3 separate regions of the Homo sapiens genome follow, and all the other regions are linked to region 1. The links are contacts of gene promoters, found by promoter capture Hi-C in blood cells and fetal thymus (Javierre and others, 2016). All regions are on one chromosome and are shown on one strand. Each heading gives the region's core, a stretch centred on a gene start or on the middle of the fragment in contact. The rest is flanking DNA. Distances are from core to core; before and after follow the strand shown. Region 1 holds the start of FMO2 (flavin containing dimethylaniline monoxygenase 2). Region 2 overlaps KIFAP3 (kinesin associated protein 3). Region 3 overlaps KIFAP3 (kinesin associated protein 3).

The links. The method cuts DNA at HindIII sites, captures the fragments that hold promoters and counts their contacts. A CHiCAGO score of 5 or more calls a contact.
Region 2: a fragment that was not itself captured here is called in contact with the fragment with the promoter of FMO2 in region 1 in 7 of 17 cell types (M2 macrophages, naive CD8 T cells, M1 macrophages and 4 more); the score reaches 10.9 in M2 macrophages.
Region 3: a fragment that was not itself captured here is called in contact with the fragment with the promoter of FMO2 in region 1 in 1 of 17 cell types (M1 macrophages); the score reaches 5.0 in M1 macrophages.

The regions. Positions count from the first base shown.
Region 1 is chr1:171,183,654-171,186,820 of GRCh38, forward strand. FMO2 (flavin containing dimethylaniline monoxygenase 2) reads left to right here and starts at 1,647. Exons shown (of 9, transcript NM_001460.5): 1 at 1,647-1,706; 2 at 2,055-2,192. The coding sequence starts at 2,061. All of the region lies in intron 2 of FMO1-AS1 (FMO1 antisense RNA 1), which reads right to left. The HindIII fragment of the contact is 15,337 bases long and covers 1-3,167 here.
Region 2 is chr1:169,920,046-169,923,212 of GRCh38, forward strand. It overlaps KIFAP3 (kinesin associated protein 3), which reads right to left. Exons shown (of 20, transcript NM_014970.4): 20 at 1,284-1,736. The coding sequence ends at 1,631. Among named protein-coding and RNA genes, the nearest start is that of SCYL3, 28 kb to the left of the region's middle. The HindIII fragment of the contact is 2,125 bases long and covers 590-2,714 here.
Region 3 is chr1:169,940,636-169,943,802 of GRCh38, forward strand. All of the region lies in intron 19 of KIFAP3 (kinesin associated protein 3), which reads right to left. Among named protein-coding and RNA genes, the nearest start is that of SCYL3, 48 kb to the left of the region's middle. RefSeq lists an enhancer at 620-3,167. The HindIII fragment of the contact is 5,755 bases long and covers 1-3,167 here.

The DNA.
Region 1 (3,167 bases), core at 397-2,896:
GCACAATCATAGCCCACTGCAGTCTCGACCTCCAGGGCCTCAAGCAATCCTCCCACCTCAGCCTTCCAAGTAGCTGAGACTACAAGTGCATGCTGCCATGCCTGACTGATTTTTTGTTTTTTGCAGAGATGAAGTCTCACTATGTTGCCCAGTCTGACCTTGAACTCCTAGCAATACCCTACCCTGGCCTCCCAAACTGCTGGGATTACAGGCATGAGCCACTGTGCCTGGCCTTTTTTCATTTTAACTGAGAAATGTGTTCAGCTCTTTTGTTCCTTAGTCATTGATCATCACTTTTGTTATATCTGTTAGTCTTGTCATAGAGTTGCTGCACTTATTACACAGAGAAGGCCTTTTATCACGACCAATTTATTTTAGGAAATTTCAGGGAAAACGTTTTTCTAGAACACCTTATTTGACATTATAAAACAACTCTTCACTCTTGCACTCCAGACCTCCCTTTCCAGTTTTCTTTTTCTCCATAGTGGTCATCACCACTTGTTTTATTTTATTGATGGGCTGTCTGGCTCCCTCAACTACAAAGTAAACTCCACAAAGGCAGAGAGTTTTGCCTCTTTTATTCATTGCTGTACCTGCATCACTTAGAAAGTTTCTGGCACCTAGGAAGTGTTCAGTAAATATTTATTGAATAAGTTTATGTAAAACGTCTCAGACTCCTTAGAGAAACTGGTCTTTTGGGGTTGGAGAATAAAGTTCTTTACCTCATCAGTTAGACTCTATCTAAGGTACACGAGGGCTTGCTAGTCTCCTAAGTTAGTCTGCTAATAAATGTTAACCCTAATAACTGAAATTATTAGCAGAGGTAATTATCCAGTTCTATATCAAGGCAAAAAGACAGCAGTGGATAGAAAGATCTTAGAAGTCCCACTAGGTTCATCCAAGCCACCATACACATAGGCAGAAAAATCAAAATAAGATATGAGCCTGGACAGGGTGAGCAATCTGGGAAAAGATGAACACAGTATGCTAGGACCCAGAAATCATCAAGTCTATGAAAACTAAGCCAGAACACAAATGTGAATTCCATAAGATCAGGAACATAATCTGTCTTGTTCATCCAGGCATGGTAATCTGCCAGAAATAGTGCTTAACTGCAAGAACTGAATATTTGTTAGATAATTAAACCATCAACTAAATGAGATTCATGCAACCATGAAAAATGCTGCTATAGGTACACAATATTGATATACTAGAAAGTTAAAAAATCAAGTTGGAAATTAGACTATTCCATTTCTGTTTGTGTGTATGTATCTACAAATAGGTGGAAGGATATACCAAAATGTCAACAGCAGTTACCTCTGGGTGGTGAGGAGTAATCTTAACCTTGTTATTTATCCCTATATGTTCATTTGTGAATGAATATTTATTACATCATTATAAAAAGGATTTTTAAACTATCTGTATGTTTAAGAGTATATGTTGCTACTATGTAAGAGTATATGCTGTTACTGTAAAGACATTGCATTACTACTGTTGACCTCAGAGCACGAGCCTCTTGCCTAATTCTAGGACTCCTAACTAAGTCTTTGGAGTTTCAGCTGGAAGAATGCTGGAGGAATACGGAACTCCTCCCATTTCTCACAGCCACCTCCAACTCTTAAAAACGCTTCCAACTGCCTCCCAGCACACAACCAAGGGAGAAAACTATTCTGTCAAAGAGACGGTGCCAAAAGGCAAAAACAAAGGTAAGGATGATCGCTGGGGAAAGAAGCTGAAAAGGAAAAGCTCAGAACTCTAGCTGGAAATTTGGCTCACATCCCTAGTATGTTACTGCATAGTCTGGCTTTGTTCAATGGGTCGCTTTTAAATATTAAAGCTAGATGTAAGCAAGGTTTGCAACAAAGTCCATAAGAAACTCAGCTTTTCTCAAAGGCAAGAAGAGAGCAGGATTTTTGACTGGCTCTTTATTCAATAGTGCTGCTTATTAAATTACCACTGCTACAATGTTTAAAGCCAATTACCTGAGCACATCATAAGGATTCTCTTACCGGTTGTCCCAGTTAAGTAATGTTGATTGATCAACTCCTTGACAGGAGCTGATGGCAAAGAAGGTAGCTGTGATTGGAGCTGGGGTCAGTGGCCTAATTTCTCTGAAGTGCTGTGTGGATGAGGGACTTGAGCCCACTTGCTTTGAGAGAACTGAAGATATTGGAGGAGTGTGGAGGTTCAAAGTAAGTGAGATTTTCTTGGGTCTTGAACAGGTTGTGTTGTTATTTCAGGGTGAATCACAGTTACTGATGGGTCATATTGAGAAATTTATTAAACAACTCTGATCAGATTTTATTTCTACTTATTGATGTGGCCATAATGGAACTGAAGTCATAGGCTGGCATCTCTCCCCCAGTCAATACTAACCCAACCCAGGTAGCTGACCCAGGCATGTAAAAGATCTCTTCTTTTGGATTCAGCAATTGTCTTACAGCCCATACTTCTGTCATTCTTTAATACGCTAATATTAGAGAACATTTTACAAAAATAGAAGTAACAGGGATTCTTCTCAAGATATCACTTCTGTTTCAATTATTAAACCAAATGCTTCTTTAGAGACCATGCTCTTATCATTACTATTTTTCTCTGACAAATGAAGCATGTTTGTTTACTGAGCTTTATCAATGACATTCTAGTATAACTGCTGTGAAACTCTTTGTTAAATATGTTTTATTAAATTTATTCTATTAATCAAACCAAAATATTGATAATGCTATTTGTCTGTATTAGTCCATTCTCATGCTGCTATGAAGAAATACTGAGACTGGGTGATTTATAAAGGAAAGAGGTTTAATTGACTCCCAGTTCCACAATGCTGGGGAGGACTCAGAAAATTTACAATCATGGCAGTGGGAAAGAGAGGTGCTGAGCAAAGGGGGAAAAGCCCCTTATAAAACCATCAGATCTCATTAGAACGCACTCACTATCATGAGAACAGCATGAGGGTAGCTGCCCCCTTGATTCAATTACCTACCCCCACCAGGTCCTTCCCAAGACATGTGGGGATTGTGGGAACTACAATTCAATATGAGATTTGGATGGGGACACAAAGCCAAACCATGTCACTGTCCTTAAAAATTTGTATAAAACTTAGAAAGTTGCATAGATAGCTATAAGGAGTTACAATTATTCCTTCCCACAACCTCTCAATAGGTAGT
Region 2 (3,167 bases), core at 402-2,901, 1.3 Mb before region 1:
AGTTTATAACAACATGAGGGAAGTTAAAGCTATAGGATGTTTGCATCATTTTCCTATTAATGTCACTTATGTGTATTTATACTTTGTACACATGATAAATAATAAAACAAGCTATTTAGTATTGAGATTGCTGAATAGGAAGCAAAGAGACAGCCTATGTCATTGACTAAGTCACTTAACCTCTCCTGGCCAGTTTTTTTGACTGCAAAAATTAGAGTTGGACAGGGTTGCTTCTAAGGCCTTTTCCAGCTTTAATATTTTATGGTTAAAATAGAAACTAAGACAAATAAATGTATGTTTTCAGAAAGATCAAAGGCATAAACATACCTCAGATTTACATCTCCTAAGGGGCATCATATACTTCCTTACACATAGCAGGTAGTCAGGAAAATATCTGTTGATTACATTTAAATTTTTTATGTGATTGGTTTCTTAAATAAGTAGATGGAATGAGTTATTTCAAAGGCCTTTTCCAAATGTTATCTTCTGCTTAAAATGTAATTTAAGCCACATAAATAGTGTAGTTAGATCAATGAGATTTTAAATTCAAGAACAGAAGTCTTATCTTTGATCTATGTATTCCCTTTGAAGCTTCATATTTTCTCCCATAGCAGGTGATCATGGAACTATCTCTGATTATAGTTATTATTATGGTTATTTCTTTGCTCAGCTTTTCAAGTAGAATTGAACATTTTTTTAATATGAAAACACTGAACTATTTTCAAAACCCATTATGAATTATATAATGTCTCTCCATTTCTTGCTATCTAAATGTACGTTATAAGAACAAGTGAACAATTGGGAACTGGGTACCCAAGTGAGTGAAATATTCTGTTCCTTAGTTTTCCTTAATGCGACTTTTAATTAGCTTTCCCATGCTTTAGATACTAAATTTATGAAGAATAAAAGTTAAAAGCCAAATGCTAATCTTGTATCACTGCTTGTCTTGTATACTACTTGTCCTAGGATTTCTATATTACAACTAGGAAGATATGAATTAAAACCACCAAAGAGACTATAACCATAAATAACTTATGACATATGTTCCATTATTAATTGAAAACTCATAGTTAATAAACTTTGGGAAGGAAACTTTCAGGCACATGGCATGGAATATGAAGGTGATGTTCTTTTTATAAATTTTAAAGGTAGCATATATTATACAAATTACTCAAGAGTTTACAAGCAGAAAAAAAGGAGAAAAAATAAAATTCACGCGCACCCTATATTAACATGTAATTCGTAGTGAAATGTGTGAAATATAAACACATGACTTTCACTTATTCATTTTCACTTTACGCTTTTTAATTGAAATTAAATTAGTCACTTAACATACATAATGCAGTGTTTGTTTTCCAGTCTAGTAGCTTTTCAGCATTCAGTTTTGTGGCTCATGGGAAATGTTACTTAGCATCAAGATGTGGTTTGATGAGTGAACAATGTCAGTATCAACTGTACTTAACAGAAGACAGAGGGGCTGGGGTTAATCTGCAGCTAACAACATATAAAAATAAAAACAAACACAGACCCACAATAACATCAACATGCATTATTAGGCAAAGATCCAAAATTAACCCAACCCACACAGATTTCTTCTAAGCTGAGATTACACATGGAAACAGATACTTTATCAAGATCCATAGCCATAGTAGTAAGGTTCATCAGGGCGGAATCCATATGCTGTGGCAGGGCGTCCAAGAATGCCAACTGGTTGGCCAAAGCCATCCATTCCAAGGCTAAAAAAGAAAAAAAAGAATGATAAGCTATGTTTTTCATCACACATCCACAATGCAGATTAAGAGGCCTACATTTTTATACCACCAAGATTCTCTTCCTAGCAGGGATAGTGATTTAGGTGGATATCATTAACTTTTTTTTTTAAGGTTAATAGAGCCATTAAAAGTGTATATAATAAAATACTTCTAACAATGTGTGTTAAAAGTATGGGAAACCTCTGTCAGTAGGTACTATTTGAAACAAAGTGGAAGAATCAAATCAGAAAAGTTTTATTTAATAAATTACTTATATATGGCTCTTAAGCAAAAATATGAAAAGATTTTACATGCTAGCAATGATCAGTAATATATTGCTAGGGAATGATAAAAATAAAACTGTAGTAAAGTGAGTTTTGCTGTTTATAATGTCTTTTCATATGAAGATACAGGACTAATTCCACTTTTAGTAAAAACATGTGTTTGAGTTATATCAGTGAACTCTCATGCAGGGCCAAATCATACCATAAGCCTATGATTAAAAGAACAAGATAAGGAATTTGACAAAATTTGAAAATTAGTCAGATTTGATCTGCAAATCCTTCCTCTGATTCCTCAATGCAAACAATTACAAAACATATCTATTTCTTTTGAGTGACAGCAAGACAATTACAAATTTTGGTTCAACTTATTCTATGGGAATAACAGAAACCCAAAGATAACCTTCAGAGTTGTAAAGATAGCTTGAAGTATGTTAAACTTCATGATTATTATTTTAAAAAAATTACTTGTTGGTCTATTAATACATTATTTAGAGGAAAATCTGTTCTCCAAAGTCCTTTTTAAAGGTCAGGGAATTATCCAACACTTAGGAAAATGATAAAGTATTTATTTTGCCAGGCAGAACATGGTGGCCTTAACATGCTCATGCATAGCTCATGCAGTGAATGCTAGTGAGCTTGACTTCCAATCAATGGACACCATTTGTAATGCAGAAATGTAAGCTTTGGAAAAATAAAACATATTTAAATGATTTAAGATTTAAGTTTGCACTACATGAGATGGAAAGATAATTTTCCCTCAATAGCAAAAACTGAATGTGATGAAAAAATATATTCACATAGGCACTAACTCCCTGTCACACTCAGAGTGAGATTAAGTTGACACACTTTAGAAGTAACTATTAAAATGTTAAGGTTTTAAATAAATGTGTGAATGCGTGTGTGTGTTTGTGTGCACGCGTGCTTGTGTGTATTAAGATGGAACTAAAGAGTAAATGTAAAGAGCCAAAATACATATAACACATACTGGTCCAGTGACTCTGCCCTTTAGGAGAATGGAAGTTCTGAAATACAAGTTTCAGGTTAGCATTTGTACTGAGCGATTCTGGACAAAATTTGTTGTTTTGGGGTCCTTCTATATAAAAACTCTGTCTATAGTTTCTCAAAGTTGGTT
Region 3 (3,167 bases), core at 353-2,852, 1.2 Mb before region 1:
AGGTGGAGCTTAGGCAGTAAGGTTTGCTGGCCTGCTACTCACCTCCTGCTGTGTGGCCAAGTTCCCAACAGGCCATGGACAGGTACTGGCCTGGGAGTTGGGGACCCCTGATTTAGAGAATACCATTTAAAATAATACAATTAGAATAAAGATTGTGTATGTCACTGAAGTCAGCATTGTTTCTACTCCTTTCCAGCAGTTTCATTTAAAACTCTACTGGACTGTTCATGTCCCCAAAACAAATTCTTTTGAGCAGTTGCACTTGTTTAAGAATTATGTGTGTGTGTGTGTGTGTGTGTGTGTGTGTGTGTGTGTGTGTTTAAAGACAACAAAAACTGAAGAAAACAATGTTTACTTCATGAAGAAACTTTCTGTGGACTTGCAAGGTTAGAATTTTGGGCAGATTTAAAGTTGCAAAGAAACGAAGAAGCAAACTATAGAAAAGGCCCTCAGATAAAGTCTAAAATTCTGTTTTCATCTTCATCTTTTTTTCACATGCAAACTATTATGTTACAATTTAAGTAGACATAGGTCTATTTGAAAACAATTCTAAGAGTATAAGCTACATTTTGAAAGTTCAACATTCTAACATTATACCTAATACCTTCTGAAAAGGCCCTGTGAGTGCTGCACCTCTTTCCTTTAAAATGTTCAAACCACTCCTCTTACCCTCCTCTTGTATTGGGGTAACTAACAACAGGCATTTCCCCAAAAGTGGATCCTCTTTTTATCAGGAGATCTGACTTTACTGTCCCCAATTCAGAAACAGTCTTCTGAGTTCTCAATACACTTTTGGTTATTGCTTTTATGGTAGTTGTCTAAATCAATAAATATTACATATTTTTTCTTTATCTCAACATTTTGATTTTTATGAGGATGAGAATAATTTTTTCTGTGAAATTAGATGGCTAAACAGTAACTGTGACTTCAATCTTCTGGGAAAATATAAGCTGATTTCCTTTTTTGATTTATTTTATAAAATTTCATATTTCCATATATAAATTTGACCTAATATAAATATACAATAAAATATATTTATCAATGACTATCACCCAAGATGGCCCCCTGAGGGTGAATTTCTTGACAAAGAAGTTGCTAACTTCCAGTTGCCAACCACAAAAACAAAGCAGTAGAAAAGATAAGAGGTGTAAGTAAAAAATATATTTAACCTGTATTAACTGAATCAGGTAATTAATGCCTCAATTGAGAGGTTTCATTGTAACAAAAAAGAAAATAAATATGATTCTTTATGTACTTTACTATGAGGATGCACATATTAATGTATAAAATTCAGCTTGCTTAAATGTGATTTTGAAATTCTATTGATTTATTCAACATATTCATAGTATTTCCTTTATGTTTGTAAGGACCCATTTGATAAGATGGTATAGTGTGTGTTAACAACAATGTTATTTTTACTCTAAGAAGAGCTCTTATAAAGTGAAACTTCAATTTTTTGAAATCCTTGAAATTCCCTTAAATTTCCTTAAGTACTGTGGTGTCTTCTCTATAATGAAAACTGAAAAATAATGTTATGACTCATTAAATAAACTCAGTAAGTACAAACTTATGTTGAAACTAAACATACAAAATAACTAAAGAAATAACAAACCATTTTATTTTATTTGAGGAGAAAAAAGAAAAAAAGGCTTGGTCTTTAAAAAGGATTAAAATAAACTCAATTTATGGAGTCTTGGAATCTTCACGGCAGTGCAGACGGACTTCCACTTGCCCTCCCCTGGCCCACCTCCTGCACACCTTCTCCTCTTAGTTTATTCACATTTTAAATCTTTCTTCCAAGTTTGGCCTGCAACCACTTGACTGGATAAAGTAGGTCACTTGAAAAGGAAGAAAGCCCAATAAAATGAATTGCAAAGAAAACAAGATTAAACTGATTGTGCTGTTTTCATACATTGTAGCTGAAATTCTGCAAATATGCAGTTGGCTGTGGTTTGGCATTCAACAGAATGTGATCAGTAAGGAGGAAATTTTATTCTCATTAACTGCTGCAGATTTACTGCAGTGAAAAAGGGCTATGTAACCCAAGATGTGACAGTACAGAAAGATCAAAGCCATGGACTGGAAACTAAATAAACCCTCTGGCTACTTCCTGCAAGGAAAATTCACTTTGGCAATGTAGAACAGAGCCCAGTTAAAAACTACTCTCAGTTTTATGAGCTGTCATAGCAGTTCAAGTGGTTTGGACTGGCTGAGTTTATAACATTATATTTCCTTGTTTTTGTCTTAGATACTTCCGTAAGCAGTTTTAAAGACGCCCCCCCCCACCCCTTTAAAAAACACAACAACAAAAAACTAATTTCTTTTGATTGAAACCAAGAAGGTAACCACTAAACTTATTAACGCAGGTAGGTCTTCATTTGCAGATTCCTTTCTCATTTAATACAGCTTAATATTTTATTCTTAGATTTATTTGGTAATATAAATTTACTTAATAATTCATCTACAATCTGTATAATTCCTATTCAGAATAAGTGCAAATCAGTTTACAGAGCCCATATGGCTCATATCTGAGGAGTAAGCTATTTGTAATAGCACATCTGTAAAGACTATGGGCAATATGGAGATTATGGGAATTAATATTACATTTAAAATTACATTTGAAAACCTGTAGGCCCTAGGTTTTAGCTGTTTCTTAAAAAACAAATATCTTAGAAAAAATATCTAATATTTCTAATATAAGAAATCTAACAACTGTTCATAAATAGTTAAATTACATTGTTAAATCAATCAAGACAACAATAGGCTAGATTAAATCTACCTTAAATTAGAAAATATCCCTGAGTTAAGGAGTAAGCTCAATATCATTACACTCATATTTAAAGGAAATAAAAGATGACATGCTCTATTTCTCTCCCTTATTTTTTTAAGGGGGAATAGTGATGCTTATTAACCAATTATATACAATTTTGTTATTCTCATTATAATATGAAGGAGCAAGCCTTTATGACGGTAATTTGCATTATATTACCTTAAAAATCATTTTTGTTTTTTACAATAAGAGCATTTCTAGGTCAAATATGTCATAAGAACCGTCATCCTTGCTTAAAGACTTTCTTTCTTTCCATTTAAATTTACAACTAATTTCTATCTGTAAAGCCAACAAAAATGCAATACATGTGAAAAGTATATGACGTTTAACACTAGAT